Linked DNA regions of Homo sapiens: regions 1, 3 and 4 are each linked to region 2. Evidence: promoter capture Hi-C in human tissues and cell types (Jung and others, 2019). All regions are on one chromosome and are shown on one strand. Each heading gives the region's core, a stretch centred on a gene start or on the middle of the fragment in contact. The rest is flanking DNA. Distances are from core to core; before and after follow the strand shown. Region 1 overlaps APBB2 (amyloid beta precursor protein binding family B member 2). Region 2 holds the start of UCHL1 (ubiquitin C-terminal hydrolase L1). Region 3 has its middle 120 kb from the start of UCHL1. Region 4 has its middle 93 kb from the start of UCHL1.

The links. Contacts are between HindIII fragments. The study calls those that stand out against the background at their distance.
Region 1: a contact is called between a fragment that was not itself captured here and the fragment with the promoter of UCHL1 in region 2, in 2 of the 25 tissues and cell types used here (hippocampus and psoas muscle).
Region 3: a contact is called between a fragment that was not itself captured here and the fragment with the promoter of UCHL1 in region 2, in 2 of the 25 tissues and cell types used here (hippocampus and mesenchymal stem cells).
Region 4: a contact is called between a fragment that was not itself captured here and the fragment with the promoter of UCHL1 in region 2, in 3 of the 25 tissues and cell types used here (mesenchymal stem cells, neural progenitor cells and pancreas).

The regions. Positions count from the first base shown.
Region 1 is chr4:41,134,872-41,138,284 of GRCh38, reverse strand. All of the region lies in intron 2 of APBB2 (amyloid beta precursor protein binding family B member 2), which reads left to right. Among named protein-coding and RNA genes, the nearest start is that of APBB2, 78 kb to the left of the region's middle. The HindIII fragment of the contact is 9,257 bases long and covers 1-3,413 here.
Region 2 is chr4:41,254,655-41,258,350 of GRCh38, reverse strand. It overlaps UCHL1 (ubiquitin C-terminal hydrolase L1), which reads right to left and starts at 1,423. Exons shown (of 9, transcript NM_004181.5): 1 at 1,342-1,423; 2 at 1,225-1,236; 3 at 614-742. The coding sequence starts at 1,374. It overlaps UCHL1-DT (UCHL1 divergent transcript), which reads left to right and starts at 1,624. Exons shown (of 3, transcript NR_102709.1): 1 at 1,624-1,792. RefSeq lists an enhancer at 213-713 and a silencer at 548-1,307. The HindIII fragment of the contact is 4,741 bases long and covers 1-3,696 here.
Region 3 is chr4:41,378,967-41,382,691 of GRCh38, reverse strand. It overlaps a transcript of LIMCH1 not described here. Among named protein-coding and RNA genes, the nearest start is that of UCHL1, 120 kb to the right of the region's middle. The HindIII fragment of the contact is 3,663 bases long and covers 33-3,695 here.
Region 4 is chr4:41,347,996-41,351,264 of GRCh38, reverse strand. No RefSeq gene overlaps it. Among named protein-coding and RNA genes, the nearest start is that of UCHL1, 93 kb to the right of the region's middle. The HindIII fragment of the contact is 6,105 bases long and covers 1-3,269 here.

The sequences.
Region 1 (3,413 bases), core at 628-3,127, 120 kb after region 2:
ATTCGTTTTTTCTTTCAAAGCTCATGATTTTGATGTTTCTAAAAACTCTTTGGCTGGCTAATCAAAGCTCATGAAAAGTTTCTGTGTTTCTTTCTAAAACTTAGTTTTTGTGTTTTTTTTAAATGCAGTCTCACTCTGTCACCAGGCTGGAGTGCAGTGACGTGATCTCGGCTCACAGCAACCGCTGTCTGCCAGGTTCAAGTGATTCTCCTGCCTCAGCCTCTCGAGTAACTGGAACTACAGGTGCCAGCCACCCACCTGGCTAATTTTTTGTATTTTTGATAGAGACGGGGTTTTACCGTGTTAGCTAGGATGGTCTTGATCTCCTGACCTCATGATCCACCTGCCTCAGTGCGCCCAGGCTCTTTCTAAAACTTTTGTTGCTTTACCCTTTACATTTTGGTGTTTAATTCATTTGGGGTCAATTTTTATGTATGGTGTGAGGTTTGGGTCTATGTTTATCTTATTTTGTTGATTTTTTATTTTTATTTTTTGCATATAGGTCTTAGCACCATTTGCAGAAAAGGCTAACCAGTGACTTGACTTTTTTTGTAGAAAATCAATTGACCACAAATGTAAGGGCTTTCTTTCTGTACTCTCAATTCTGTGCCTTTGGTTTACCATCTGTCCTTATGCTAGTACCACACTGGTTTTTGCAATGCAATTTTTCTATGAAAAAAGTTAGTTCAAGAATTGGACTTAAGATGCAGTGTCTTCACTAAAAAACACTGTTGTACCTTTGCTACTTTTCCTCTCTGTTCTTTATGAGTCACTGTGTTAGAGTACTAGTATTTGGTGTTTTCTCTTTGGGGTAATTATGGAAATCTAATATGGTAGATGACAATGTGGAATCAATCAAAGTGCATTTTCCAGATTACTATATATATGACTTTAAGCAGTGCTTTGTTTTTCATAAAGGTGGTAATCATTTTTATACCTGTTCTGCATTTGGAAAAAAAAAGATTAAGTTTTTCATTACCTCTGTCTTAATCATTCCCAATAACTACTGAATGAAGGTTTTACAAGGCTGGCATATTATTTCAAGTATTTTCATTAATGGTAACATGAATTGGGTCTCATATCACAAAACTATTATTTTACTAAATAGAAAACCTATGAATTAAAATGTCTTGCGTGTGTTTGGTAACATAGTGTAGTTGTATATGTTTTATGAAAATGGGACATTTTTCATAGTATAAAATGCTAGCTGTATTTTTATATTTACCTATTCTGTTTTTATCTTTGTATTAGTATGATTCTGAATAGCTAAGTGTGAAGACATTAAAATAATTATATTAGAAATGTGAAGATTGCAAAATATATATATCTTTAGTTACAACTGCGTTATGGATGCATAAACATTGAAAAGGAAATTGTTTAAAAGTCAGTGCTTTATTGTGACATTTGGAATCTAGTTGATCATTTTCTCTTGTTTTCTAATAAACTCCTAATTTTGTTTGGGACATGACATTTTTAATGTGAAAAAAATCTAAATGTAAGTCTTGGTGAAATGCAGAGACATTTCCCTTCTCTGGCACATAGCTGAGCTGACTATTGCTGCTGGGCTTTAACTGGAGATTACAGTCATGCTATTAGATTTGGAACCTGTTTTCTGCAGTGCCGTTAGTAGGTCAAGCCATGCGTCCTGGTTCCTGGAGGGCTCAGTTCTCAGGATGGCTTATCTGCTTCCTGCTTTCTTCGTAATCTTCTCATTTCAACCTGAGTAGACCAGCTTGATGGCAACTGACATGTGTGTTACCTGGCCCTTTTACTTTCCTGGGAAGTCTTTTAACTGATAATATCACCTCCTAAAAACATATCCATAGAGCAACATGGAATTATCTTTTTTATTGTTCATTTAAAGTCAAAGCCATAAGTAAGCTTTCATTTATAACTCTAAGTCCCTGGAAATAGGTGTTATGAAACTTTTAACCCAGTCACTTCTTTAAATCTTTTCTTTCTCTCTGTTGCCCCTTTAAACATCTTTGTGACCTATTCACAGAATGACTCCATGAGGAGTGTAGTATAATGTTCTGGAAAGATAAGGTCTTCTTATTCTTGTTTTCTTTTGGGAGCTGAATCAAAGCATGGCTGGGTTAGAGTAACCTCTTAACCATCGTTTACTTTGAATAGAGCCTTTTTGCCAGCTGAAGTTGGGATTCAAAATGATTGAATCACTGAAGTTTGAGTTGTAGTACAATTACATTCATGAAGACTCTGGCCTATTTATGATCATTTGCTTGCAGATGAAGCAAAATCAGATCAACCTAGTCACATTCACTGAGTCAACACCAGAATGAAGAGAGTGTCAGGGAACTGGGTGTGGTGGCACGTATCTGTAGTCCCAGCTATTCAGGAGGCTGAGGCAAGAGAATTGCTTGAGCCCAGGAGCTTGAGACCAGCATGGGCAACATAGCAAGACCCAGATCCTGTCTAGAAAAGAAAAGAGTGCCTGGAACTTGCTTCTTTAGTACAGCCACAATTTTGTATACATCTGTAATGAGGATGTTTATGACAAATACATTAACAGAGTTTGGAATAATATATCTTTTGATATTTTTCTTGTCTTTTTTTATGTTGAATAATCTGTGAAGTATAGGTTTTCTTTAACAGCTTTCAAAGATACTGTGAGTGACATACAGTCATTTATTTTAATATAATTACTGATACAAGAACAAACAGTACTTTCTCAGTTTCATACTGATCTGTGATGCATAAAATGTTTAATTTGATTATATTGTCCAAATAAGATCTATACGCATGACACGATAGCTATTCAAAGTTTCTGAAATTTCCAAATTGATTATTATCTATTCAAATAAGCATTGATCATTGATCCTTGGCTTCATTCATAAACAAAAATAGTCTACTGGTTTGGATAGTGTCTATGAAAAAACATATAATAATTTATAAAAAACAAGTATCAACATTGGTCTGGCTTGCATTAAAAAATCTTTCGGTGCAGTTTGTTAGTGTACTGTCTTTAAGGATGAAAGAATATAGTTTTGAATGTAATCGTCATGCATCTGAGGCCCTTTGAGGACAGGTTTTAGAATCATAGTAACCATGCTATGCTTGGGTTTGTAAGGGTGATTTTTTTTTTTTTTTTTTTTTTGAGGGCTCAAGGATATAGTTTGTTACTGCTGTGGCTTTTTTTCTGGTGTCTGGTTAAAATGTCACAGAGCATATGAAAAGTAAGACAGTAATTAGTGACTTGAGGAATGAATTCTCCTAGAAATAAGAAGTCTGGAGTTCCAATCAGGACTTTAGATCCTTGATTATTCTAAAATAGGATTGAAAATGACCACTGGTCTTGAGCAGTCATTAACATATGAGTGATAAGGAATGTTGAATTTGTGTTACTTCAGTGCAAATCAGTTAAATTCCAAGTGAACTAGTTAGCAGTGTCCTGT
Region 2 (3,696 bases), core at 174-2,673:
AAGGAGGTTCCCACACAGAAACCATACACAAAATGATTAAGCTTTAAGAAATACATTCAAGAGGCTAAAAACCAAGTGTGCAAGTGGTGGGAGTGGAGAAGAGAGAAGAACCCCTTAAGACCATCAGAAACCCAAGTAATGGAGGCGGAGAATTAGCGAACCTAATTGTTTCCCTGCGATTTAGGTCAGCCCTTCCCCCTCCATTCTACAGCTAGGTGGGAGTCTGAGAAGCAAACAATGAGTTGACAGGTTATAGCCCTTAAAGGGAAACCAGCAGCCATTCCCCGGAACCGGAGGCTCGAAAAAGCCCAAGTTCGAGGGAACTCATGAGTAGGATGAATGATTTCCCTGGATAACGGGATAGATGGAACTGAGATACTGCCTCTCTTCCAAATTTAAGGCAATTGTGGACGGATGGGCAAGAAGGCGACAGGCACCGCTGGAACAGGAGCCCAGGGAGTAGGTACCACGAAAATGCAGGCTCCTCCCTTCCTTGTAGGCGCGCCCCGCATCACCTACAGGGGAGGGGGCGGGGCGGGGAGCCCCCGAGGACTCAAGCTGGGGAGCGGCGTGCACTGCCGGCGGCCGGCGCATCCTGGGCCCCACGCCCTACCTGGGCCGTGAGGGGAAACAGCAGCAGCAGCGCGCAGGCAGGCGCTGGCACCGAGCCCAGAGACTCCTCTTCCAGCCCCAGCACGTCCACGAAGCGCCACTGGCCGGCGACCCCCAGCCGGGACAGCACCTGCGGAGAGGAGACAAGGCGGCCAGGCGCACGGGGACACGCGGGTCGCGGGCACCTGCCAGGGGGCGGGGCCAGGAGGCGCGCGCCCTCCGCGCCCGCACCCGAGCCTGGGAGGAGCCCCAGTCCCGCCCTGCCACCCCCACCCGGGCCGGCGCAATGACACAGCACAAAGCGCGGCCCACACGTGGCGCCCGCGAAGCCCGTGCAGCCGAGTCTGTGCTGCCCGCGCCACGCCCTCGGGAGCTCCGCCTGGCGCTCGCTCGCCACGGGGCGCAGCCCCCTCCGTCTCCCCGTGACCGGTTTCGTAGAGTCACCCGCTAAATGCAGGGGCCCAGGAAAGGCGCCCAGCCCACGCCCCAGCCCGGCCGTCTCCGGTGCTCGCAGCGGGCGGCTTGGTCCCTGCCAGCAGCCGGAACCGGTGGGCGCCCCCGCCTCGGCGCTCGCGGGGGAGGGGGCCAGAGACGGCGCGAGACGCCACTCACTTTGTTCAGCATCTGAAAGGCAAATGCAAAGAAAAAGGCAAAACCGAACCGATCAGCGACTCGGCTCCCCCTCCCTCGGCCTCGCGCTCTCCGGGTAGCGGTGCACCTGGCGCTCACCTCGGGGTTGATCTCCATCGGCTTGAGCTGCATCTTCGCGGAGCGCCCGGCAGAAATAGCCTAGGGAAGACGAAAAACAGCTAGCGGAGCCGCCCAGGCTGCAGCTATAAAGCGCCGGCCAGACGCACTGTGAGGCCTGTGCAGGGGGAGCAGGGGCAGAACCAAGCGAGGGGGAAACGGACGGTCGCGGCCAGATGGGTACGAACCCCCCGTGCGCAGCGCGGAGTGGTACGGCCGGGCCCCCAAACCTTGCAGTCTCACTCGCCGGTGAGATAATCTGGTGGTTGTGGAGACGGGATTTGTTGGTGGGTGTTCCTTGAGTGTATGGAGCAGTCCTTTTGATGGAGTCTTTAATTTTGGGCGAAGTTTCTGGAAACCCATCCTTTCACCATCCCAATTACTCTAAAGCTCGAGTCTCTGAAGCATTTGAGAAAAAGCACAAATTCAACAGGTATATATTTAATACGAATGAATGTAAATGTGTGCCCCCCGCCCCAAATCTCTCAGCAGTTTGCGTTTAACCTTAGACAATTCCTCCTCCATGTTAAGTCAGACCAGTACCGAGGTTCGTTTTTAAGTGACTACCTAGAATAAAACAGAATCTGGTAGATAACAGATACTGCATTAGGAATGCTGATGTAATGTGACTCCCGCGGAAGAAATGGTTGGTCCTGGGAGAGCAGTAGAAAGCTGGGGGATGTGAGGGTAATACAAGACACAAAGAAGGCAGGCGATTGGAGACTTGAGAAAACAGATCCAGGGAAAAGATGGGTATGATTTTGAGCGAGAGGCTGTAAAAGGAAAAGCATTTTTAAAAGAATGGGAAGCTTTGAAAAATAAAATGTCTGAGTTCACCGCAGAATACTCCCAATGAAGAAGAAAGGGAATGGCAACCAAGGAAACCACTGTTCTCTAATGATCTCAGGTGATCTCTAATGATCTCTAGTCAAAAGATGGAGAGAGAAAGCATTTGCTGAAGAATGAATTTTAAAAGGGACCAAAATCTATAAGAATTGTGCCAGGAAAGCTAAGCTGCAGAACAAAGTGGGCTTGCAGAAATACTTAGGTAGCGAAGGAAGCAAGAAGGTTGAGTATTTTTTAAAAATAGGCACCGAAGAGAATAATGATGATGGTAAAAGAATAGACCTTCTATTTAGGAAGTTGAGGTTAACAGATGACAGAGGGAAGGGAGGGAATCAACATTTTTTGAGTTATTGTTTTTGGGGATCCTTTGCATGTGTCTCTCATTTAATCCTTAGAGGAGCCGTGAAGAGACTCATATTAGTGCAATTTTACAGATCAGAATCCCAGGCCTAGAGAAGTTAATTTGCTTACGGTCACAATTGAAAAGTAAAACTGAGAAGTAAACCCTGCTAAACTGGGCTCCAAGAGCCCATTCTTTATCTAAGATTCCACAACATTCTACTTCTATTTTCTTTCCATTTTTGCCATTAGAAAATGACCTTCACACACAAAAATGAGAGAGAAAAAAATTAGTAAGAGGAGCTTAATGGGTGAATCTTATGGTATGTAAATTTTCCCTCAATAAGGTTGTTAAAGAAAAAAAGAGGTGAAGGTCAAGACAAGTGACTAGGTTATATTGAATGAGTTCTTGCCTTTAGACAAAGACAAATTACATTTCCAATTTACTTCATTTATTCATTCACTCAACAAATATTAAGAACCTACTGTGTGCTGGGTGCCGAGCTTGGAAAGTTTGGAATTAGGCATACAAAGATGAACACAATAAACATGGAAATTTCCCTCATGCCGTTTTTTTGTTTGTTTGTTTTGTTTGTTTTGTTTTGAGACGGAGTCTCGCTCTGTCGCCCAAGCTGGAGTGCAGTGGCGCGATCTCGGCTCACTGCAAGCTCCGCCTCCCCGGTTCACGCCATTCTCCTGCCTCAGCCTCCGGAGTAGCTGGGACTACAGGCGCCCGCCACCACACCCGGCTAATTTTTTTTGTATTTTTAGTAGAGACGGGGTTTCACCGTGTTAGCCAGGATGGTCTCATCTGCTGACCTCGTGATCCGCCCGTCTCGGCCTCCCAAAGTGCTGGGATTACAGGCGTGAGCCACCGCGCCTGGCCCCCTCGTGCTGTTTTTATCAGTCATAAGAGTTGTATGAAAGGGAGCAGAGATCAGGAGCACCTAACCTAGTGGAGGGGATCAGGAAGGCGTCCTGAAGGAAGTGACATTTAAGCTAAGGGCTGATCGGCAAGCAGACGTTAGCAGTTATAAGTGATTGCCAAAATAACTAATAAAAGCAGTCATGAAATCACTGTCAGAAATATTTGTTGAAGGCATTAATTCATTCACATTCATATACATATATGGCCTACTGTTTGCCAGGAAG
Region 3 (3,725 bases), core at 615-3,114, 120 kb before region 2:
AAGAGGGAGCCTTTGAGACAGGGGAAACCAAATGTGCAAAGGTAGCAATGTACAGGTTACCAAGTTGTATCCATTTTACACCAAATGTGCCTGGAAGCCCTCCCCTCCTTTCCACACCTATGATCACTCTCCTAATTCCCTAATTCAGGCCTTATGTATGCATCAACTGAACTACTGCAGAGCCCTCCCTCCTGCTTCCAATTCCCCCTCCCTACTGCTGCCTACAGTACAAACTCATAGCCCTGTTTCCTTGGCTATAAATACATAACTAAAACCTCTGACAGCACCCCTCCCTCCCCCGCCCATGAATAACCGTGTCCCCAGTTCATACCAAGGCACCTAAATTCTCCACGGATACAGCCTACCCTAGCTTTCTAGCCTCGTCTGTACTTCACACTAACCCAACTCTACCTACAAATCTACTTGTCAAGTTCCCACCCAACTGGACTACTTCCAATTGTCCAGTTCCATCTCCCACTTCCATGTTTCCATGTTTTTGATCACTGTATTAGCTACCTATTCCACAACAATGCTATGAGACAAATATCCACACACTTCAGTGGTAAACAACACTAGGCATTTACTGCTCATGTATCTGCGGTCAGAAACTAGGTAGCACTGCTGATCTTAGCTGGACGCACTCATAAGTCTGGAGCACAAGTTCTCAATCAGAGGATGTTTTGCCCCTTGGGGGCATCTGGCAATGTCTGGAGACATTTTTGGTTGTCACACCTTTGGCAGTGGGGGTACTACTGGGATCCGGTGAGTACAGGCCAGGGATGATGCTAACCATCCTAAAATGAACAGCTCCCCAAAACACAATGATCCAACCCCTAATGTCAAAGTGCTTCTGCTGAGAAACTTCACTGTAGGTGCTGGCTGGCTATTAGCTGATCTAGGATAGCCTTGTCTGGGGCAAGTGGGGCAATTTGGCTTTGTCCAGGTCTCTCATCCTCCAGCAGGCCATCTGGGGCATCTTGTCACAGCGATGACAGAGGAGAAAGAACAAGCAGAATTACCCAAGGTGTCTTACAGCCTAAGCTTGGAACAGGCACCTCATCACTTCTGCTGCATTCTACTGGCCAAAGCAAGTCAGAGGGCCTGCCCGAATCCAAGGAGTCAGGAAACAGACTCCACCTCTTCAGGGAGAAGAACGGCAGTCACTTGGCAAGGGGTATGTACACAGGACAGGATGGAAAACTGGTATAGCCAACCACACCAATTCAGCTCCCTCTGTGAGGGAAACATGAATTTGGAATTATAAAAGTGGTTCCCTTCTCTCTGCTCCCTCTTGTTTACATTCCTCTTTGGGTGTTTAAAATACTGCACTTCGTATTACCGATACTTGGAGCTGACAGACAGCCGGTATTCACCATGGCAGGCACTACTGTCACTGGGTCTGCTCTGATTGGTTGGTGCTGTGCTGTACAGTTATTTAAATTTAGTTACCTTGGCCTCCACTTTTGTGCACCTGTTTGTCTCCTCTATGGGACTGAGAATCACTCACTTGGTGCTAGAATCTATATTAAGATATTAGTTTAAGAATAAGGTTAAGTTCTTCCTTGGGCATTCAGTGCCTGGCATTCAGTGGCTTGGATATTAAATGCACCTACCTGGCACACAGTAAGTGTTCAAGATCTGTTTATTGAATAAATGAATAAATTAGGACATTTGTACAAAGAATAACTGATTGTGATATGACTTTACACTCAGGAATGCCTATGATTCAGTGCAGAAAATAAGAAGATTCTCCTAAAGAAGCTGTGGTCAAATCTGCTCAGGTATCTAGAACATTCTACTACTCTTTATAGTATGCCATAAAATACTGATTATTTTATTCCATCATGTGAACTAGGAATGATGTTGTTGGCAGACAGAATATAACTGTATTCCCTGGATGCACATCTCTTCACACACCCCCACATAAATAATCATTCAAACAAGTTTTAAATCTTAGATCTGCCAATATCGCCCAGTGCAACTTACTCACTTATTTTGTCATCTGCTGTGTTCTCCACCCTGGCTGCACATTGCAATCACTTGGGGGAAAATGTCTATAAAATAACAATGCTCAGGCCCTGATCCAGATCATTTTAAATCAAAAGCTCCCAAATAATTCTAATGTGTAGCCAGAGTTGAGAACTGCTGAGCCAGAGCTCTCCACTAGCAGGGAGGCAGTAATTATTATTACATGCTTATCTAAAAAAAAAAAAAGAAAGAAAAGAAAATATCAAATCAAATCTCAGGCTGGGTGCAGTGGCTCATGCTTGTAATCCCAGCACTTTGGGAGGCCAGGGCAGGATTGCTTGAGGCCAGGAGGAGATCAAGGCCAGCCTAGGCAACAAAGTGAGATACCATCTCTACAAGAAAGAAGAAAGAAAAGAAAAGAAGATATCAAATCTCTGTAAGATTTTGTTTAAATAAAAGTTTCCAGAACTAATCAAAACTTTCAGTAACATGAGTTTCAATATAAATAGTGCATATTACCAGTGATTACCTATATCAGGTGGGATTTCAGAGTGGAAGCATTTTTATTCCTATATTGTTTGGTGGTGGTGGTAGTGGTGGTGTTTAAAATACTAGACCTGGCTGGGCATGGTGGCTCACACCTGTAATCCTAGCACTTTGGGAGGCCAAAACGGGTGGATCACCTGAGGTTAACGTCAGGGAGTTTGAGACCAGCCTGGCCAACATGGCAAAACCCCATCTCTACTAAAAATACAAAATTAGCCAGGTGTGGTAGTGCACACCTGTAATCCCAGCTACTCAGGGGGCTGAGGCAGGAGAACTGCCTGAACCCAGGAGATGGAGGTTGCAGTGAGCTGAGATCGCGTCACTGCACCCCAGCCTGGGCAACACAGCGAGACTCTGTCTCAAAAAAATAAAAATAAAAATAAATAAATAAATAAAATACTAGACCTATTTTGGAAAATATATCTAGAGAGAATATCTTACCGTCATCATTTATCTAAATAGACTGGACTAGACAAATGACTTAGTATCAGAATATCTAATATTGAATCCCTTATATATAAAACATGATAAATGACCAGTTACAGTTAAAATTACATATTGATCGTGTAGCCACTTATGATGGCTTTAAAATATGTCCACAGATTCTTTGATACTCCTCCTTTCAAAAGGTGGAGTCTAATTCCTCTCCTCTTGGGTGTGGGCTGTACTTAATGACTAACTTCTTAGGAAGTTATGGTGGCTGATACAGTGGCAGATAAGTTGGCAGATATGGTGACATGTGAAGTCTGAAGCCAGGTCCTACCATGCCTTCCTTTTTGCTCTCCTGAATCATTCACTTTAGGGGAAGTCAGCTGCCATGTTATAAGGACACACAAGCAGCCCCACAGGGAGGCCTAGATGACAGGAACTAATACCTCCTGCCAACAGCCAGCAAAGTACTGAGGCCTCCTGCATACAGGCACATGAGGGAGCCATCTTAGAAGCAGATCTTCCAGCCACAGTCAAGCCTTCAGATGACACCTGCCCAGCCAACATCTTGTTTGCAACCTCAAGAAAAACCCGAGCCAGAACCATCTAACTAATCATTCCCAAATTTCTGACTCATAGAAACTATAAAATAATAAATACTTGTTGGTTTAAGCTACTGTGTTTTGGGCTAATCTATTATGCACCAATAACTAAATCACCATCAAAAAACTTTTAACAGTTTTCTTGACAAGTATCTAAAGTGTCCCTTCTACTATTTACAC
Region 4 (3,269 bases), core at 770-3,269, 92 kb before region 2:
GTAGAGTTTCTGCTGAGAGATCAGCTGTTAGTCTGATGGGCTTCCCTTTGTGGGTAACCCGACCTTTCTTGCTGGCTGCCCTTAACATTTTTTCCTTCATTTCAACCTTGGTGAAACTGACAATTATCTGTCTTGGGGTTGCTCTTCTCGAGGAGTATCTTTGTGGTGTTCTCTGTATTTCCTGAATTTGAATGTTGGCCTGTCTTGCTAGGTTGGGGAAGTTCTCCTGGATAATATCCTGCAGAGTGTTTTCCAGCTTGGTTCCATTCTCCCTGTCACTTTCAGGTACACCCATCAAACGTAGATTTGGTCTTTTCACATAGTCCCATATTTCTTGGAGGCTTTGTTCATTTCTTTTTACTCATTTTTCTCTAAACTTCTCTTCTCACTTCATTTCATTAATTTGATCTTCAATCACTGATACCCTTTCTTCTACTTGATCGGAATTGGCTACTGAAGCTTGTGCATGCATCATGTAGTTCTCGTGCCATGGTTTTCAGCTCCATCAGGTCATGTAAGGTCTTCTCTACACTGTTTATTCTAATTAGCCATTCATCTAATCTTTTTTCAGGGTTTTTAGCTTCCTTGCAATGGGTTCAAACATCCTCCTTTAGCTCAGAGAAGTTTGTTATTACCGACCTTCTGAAGCCTACTTCTGTCAACTTGTCAAAGTCATTCTCCGTCCAGCTTTGTTCCATTGCTGGTGAGGAGCTGTGATCTTTTGGAGGAGAAAAGGTGCTCTTGTTTTTAGAATTTTCAGCTTTTCTGCTCTGCTTTCTCCCCATCTTTGTGGTTTTATCTACCTTTGGTGTTTGATGATGGTGACCTACAGATGGGGTTTTGGTGTGGATGTCCTTTTTGTTGATGTTGATGCTATTCCTTTCTGTTTGTTAGTTTTCTTTCTAACAGTCAGGTCCCTCAGCTGCAGGTCTGTTGGAGTTTGCTGGAGGTCCAATCCAGACCCTGTTTCCCTGGGTATCACCAGCGGAGGCTGCAGAACAGCAAATATTGCTGCCTGATCCTTCCTCTGGAAGCTTCATCTCAGAGGGGCACCCAGCTGTATGAGGTGTCAGTCGGCCCCTACTGGGAGGTGTCTCCCAGTTAGGCAACATGTGGGTCAGGGACCCACTTGAGGAGGCAGTCTGCCCATTCTCAGAGCTCAAACACCACGCTGGGAGAACCACTGCTCTCTTCAGAGCCATCAGACAGGGACGTTTAAGTCTGCAGAAGTTTCTGCTGCCTTTTGTTCACTTATGCCCTACTTCCAGAAGTGGAGTCTACAGAGGCAGGCAGGCCTTGTTGAGCTGTGGTGGGCTCCACCCAGTTCAAGCTTCCCGGCGGCTTTGTTTACCTACTCAAGCCTCAGCAATGGCGGACGCTCCTCCCCCAGCCAGGCTGCCACCTCACAGTTAAATCATGGACTGCTGTGCTAGCAGTGAGCGGGGCTCCATGGGCATGGGACCCGCTGAGTCACGCCCGGGATATAATCTCCTGGTGTGCCATTTGCTAAGACCATTGGAAAAGCACAGTATTTGGGTGGCAGTGTCGCGCTTTTCCTGGTACAGTCTGTCATGGCTTCCCTTGGCTAGGAAAGGGAAATCCCCCAACCCCTTGCACTTCCCAGGTGAGGCAATGCCCCACCCTGCTTCGGCTCACCCTTCATGGGCAGCACCCACTGTCCAACCAGTCCCAGTGAGATGAACCAGGTACCTCAGTTGGAAATGCAGAAATCACACGTCTTCTGCGTCAGTCACGCTGGGAGCTACAGACCGGAGCTGTTCCTATTCAGCCATCTTGGAACGGACCCTCCCATTCATCAGTTGATGGATACTTCAGTTCTTTCCACTTGTTGGTTATTATGAATAATGCTGCTTATCAACATTCATGCACAAGATTTTGTATGGACAAATGTTTTCATTTCTCTTCAGTATAGGAGAAAAAGTAGAATTGCTGGGTCATATGATAACTCTATGTTTAATCTTTTGATGAATGACCAGACTTTTCCTCAGCAGCTGCATCCTTTTACATTCCCAGCAGCAGTGTATAAAGTTTCCAATTTCTCCACATCCTTGCCAACACTTGCCAAGTTTTTTTATTATAGCTATCCTAGTGTGTATCTGGTTGTGGTATCTGGTTGTGGGTTTAGTTTGCATTTCCCTGATGGCTAATGATGCCAGACATCTTTTCTTGTGCTTTTTGGCCATTTGTACATATTCTTCAGAGAAATGTCTATTCAGAACTTTTGTCCATTCTTAGTTGTTATTTCTCTTTTTATCATTGAGTTATAAGAGTTCTTTATATATTCTAGATACAAATCTCTTATCCAGATATATGGTTTGCAAATATCTTCTGCCATTTGGTAGTGGGACTTTTCACTTTCTTAGTGGTGTCCTTTGAAGTACCAGAGTTTTTCATTCTGATGAGGTCTAATTATTTATTTTTTTCTTTTGTTGCTGGTGCTTTTGGTGTCATATCTAAGAAAGCATTGACTAATCCAAGGTCATGAAGATTTATGCTGTTTACTTGTAAGAGTTTTATTGCTGTAGCTCTTACATTTAGGTCTTTGATCGATTTTTAGTTAATTTTTTTTAAGAGCATAGGTTTTGAGGTCAAACAGTGTGATAGTCTTGGTCTTCTGAGAAGCAGACACCAAAGTAGAAATTAGGCTGGGCATGGTGGCTTATGCCTGTAATGCCAACACTTTGGGAGGCTGAGGCAGGAGAATAATTTGAGACCAAGAGTTCGAGACCAGCCTGAGCAACATACGGAGACCCCCCCACCCATCTCTACAAAAACAAACAAATAAATAAATTAGCTGCATGTGCCTGGTGCATGCCTGTAGTCCTAGCTACTTAGGAGGCTGAAGTGGGAAGATCGCTTGTATGCAGGAGTTCCAGGCTGCAGTGAGCTGTGACTGCACCACTACACTCCAGGCTGGGTGACAGAGTGAGACCTCATCTCCAGAAAAAAAAAAAAAAAAAAAAAAAATGGAGAATTAGGTAGGGCATGGTGGCTCATGCCTGTAATCCCAGCATTTTGGGAGGCCGAGATGGGTGGATCACCTGAGGTCAGGAGTTTGAGGCCTGCCTGGCCAACATGGTGAAACCCCATCTCTACTAAAAATATAAAAACTAGCCAGGCATGGTGGACATGCATGTAATCCCAGTTACTCAGGAGGCTGAGACAGAAGAATCACTGGAAACTGGGAGGCAGAAGTTGCAGTGAGCTGAGACCATGCCACTGCACTCCAGCCTGGGCGACAGAGCGAG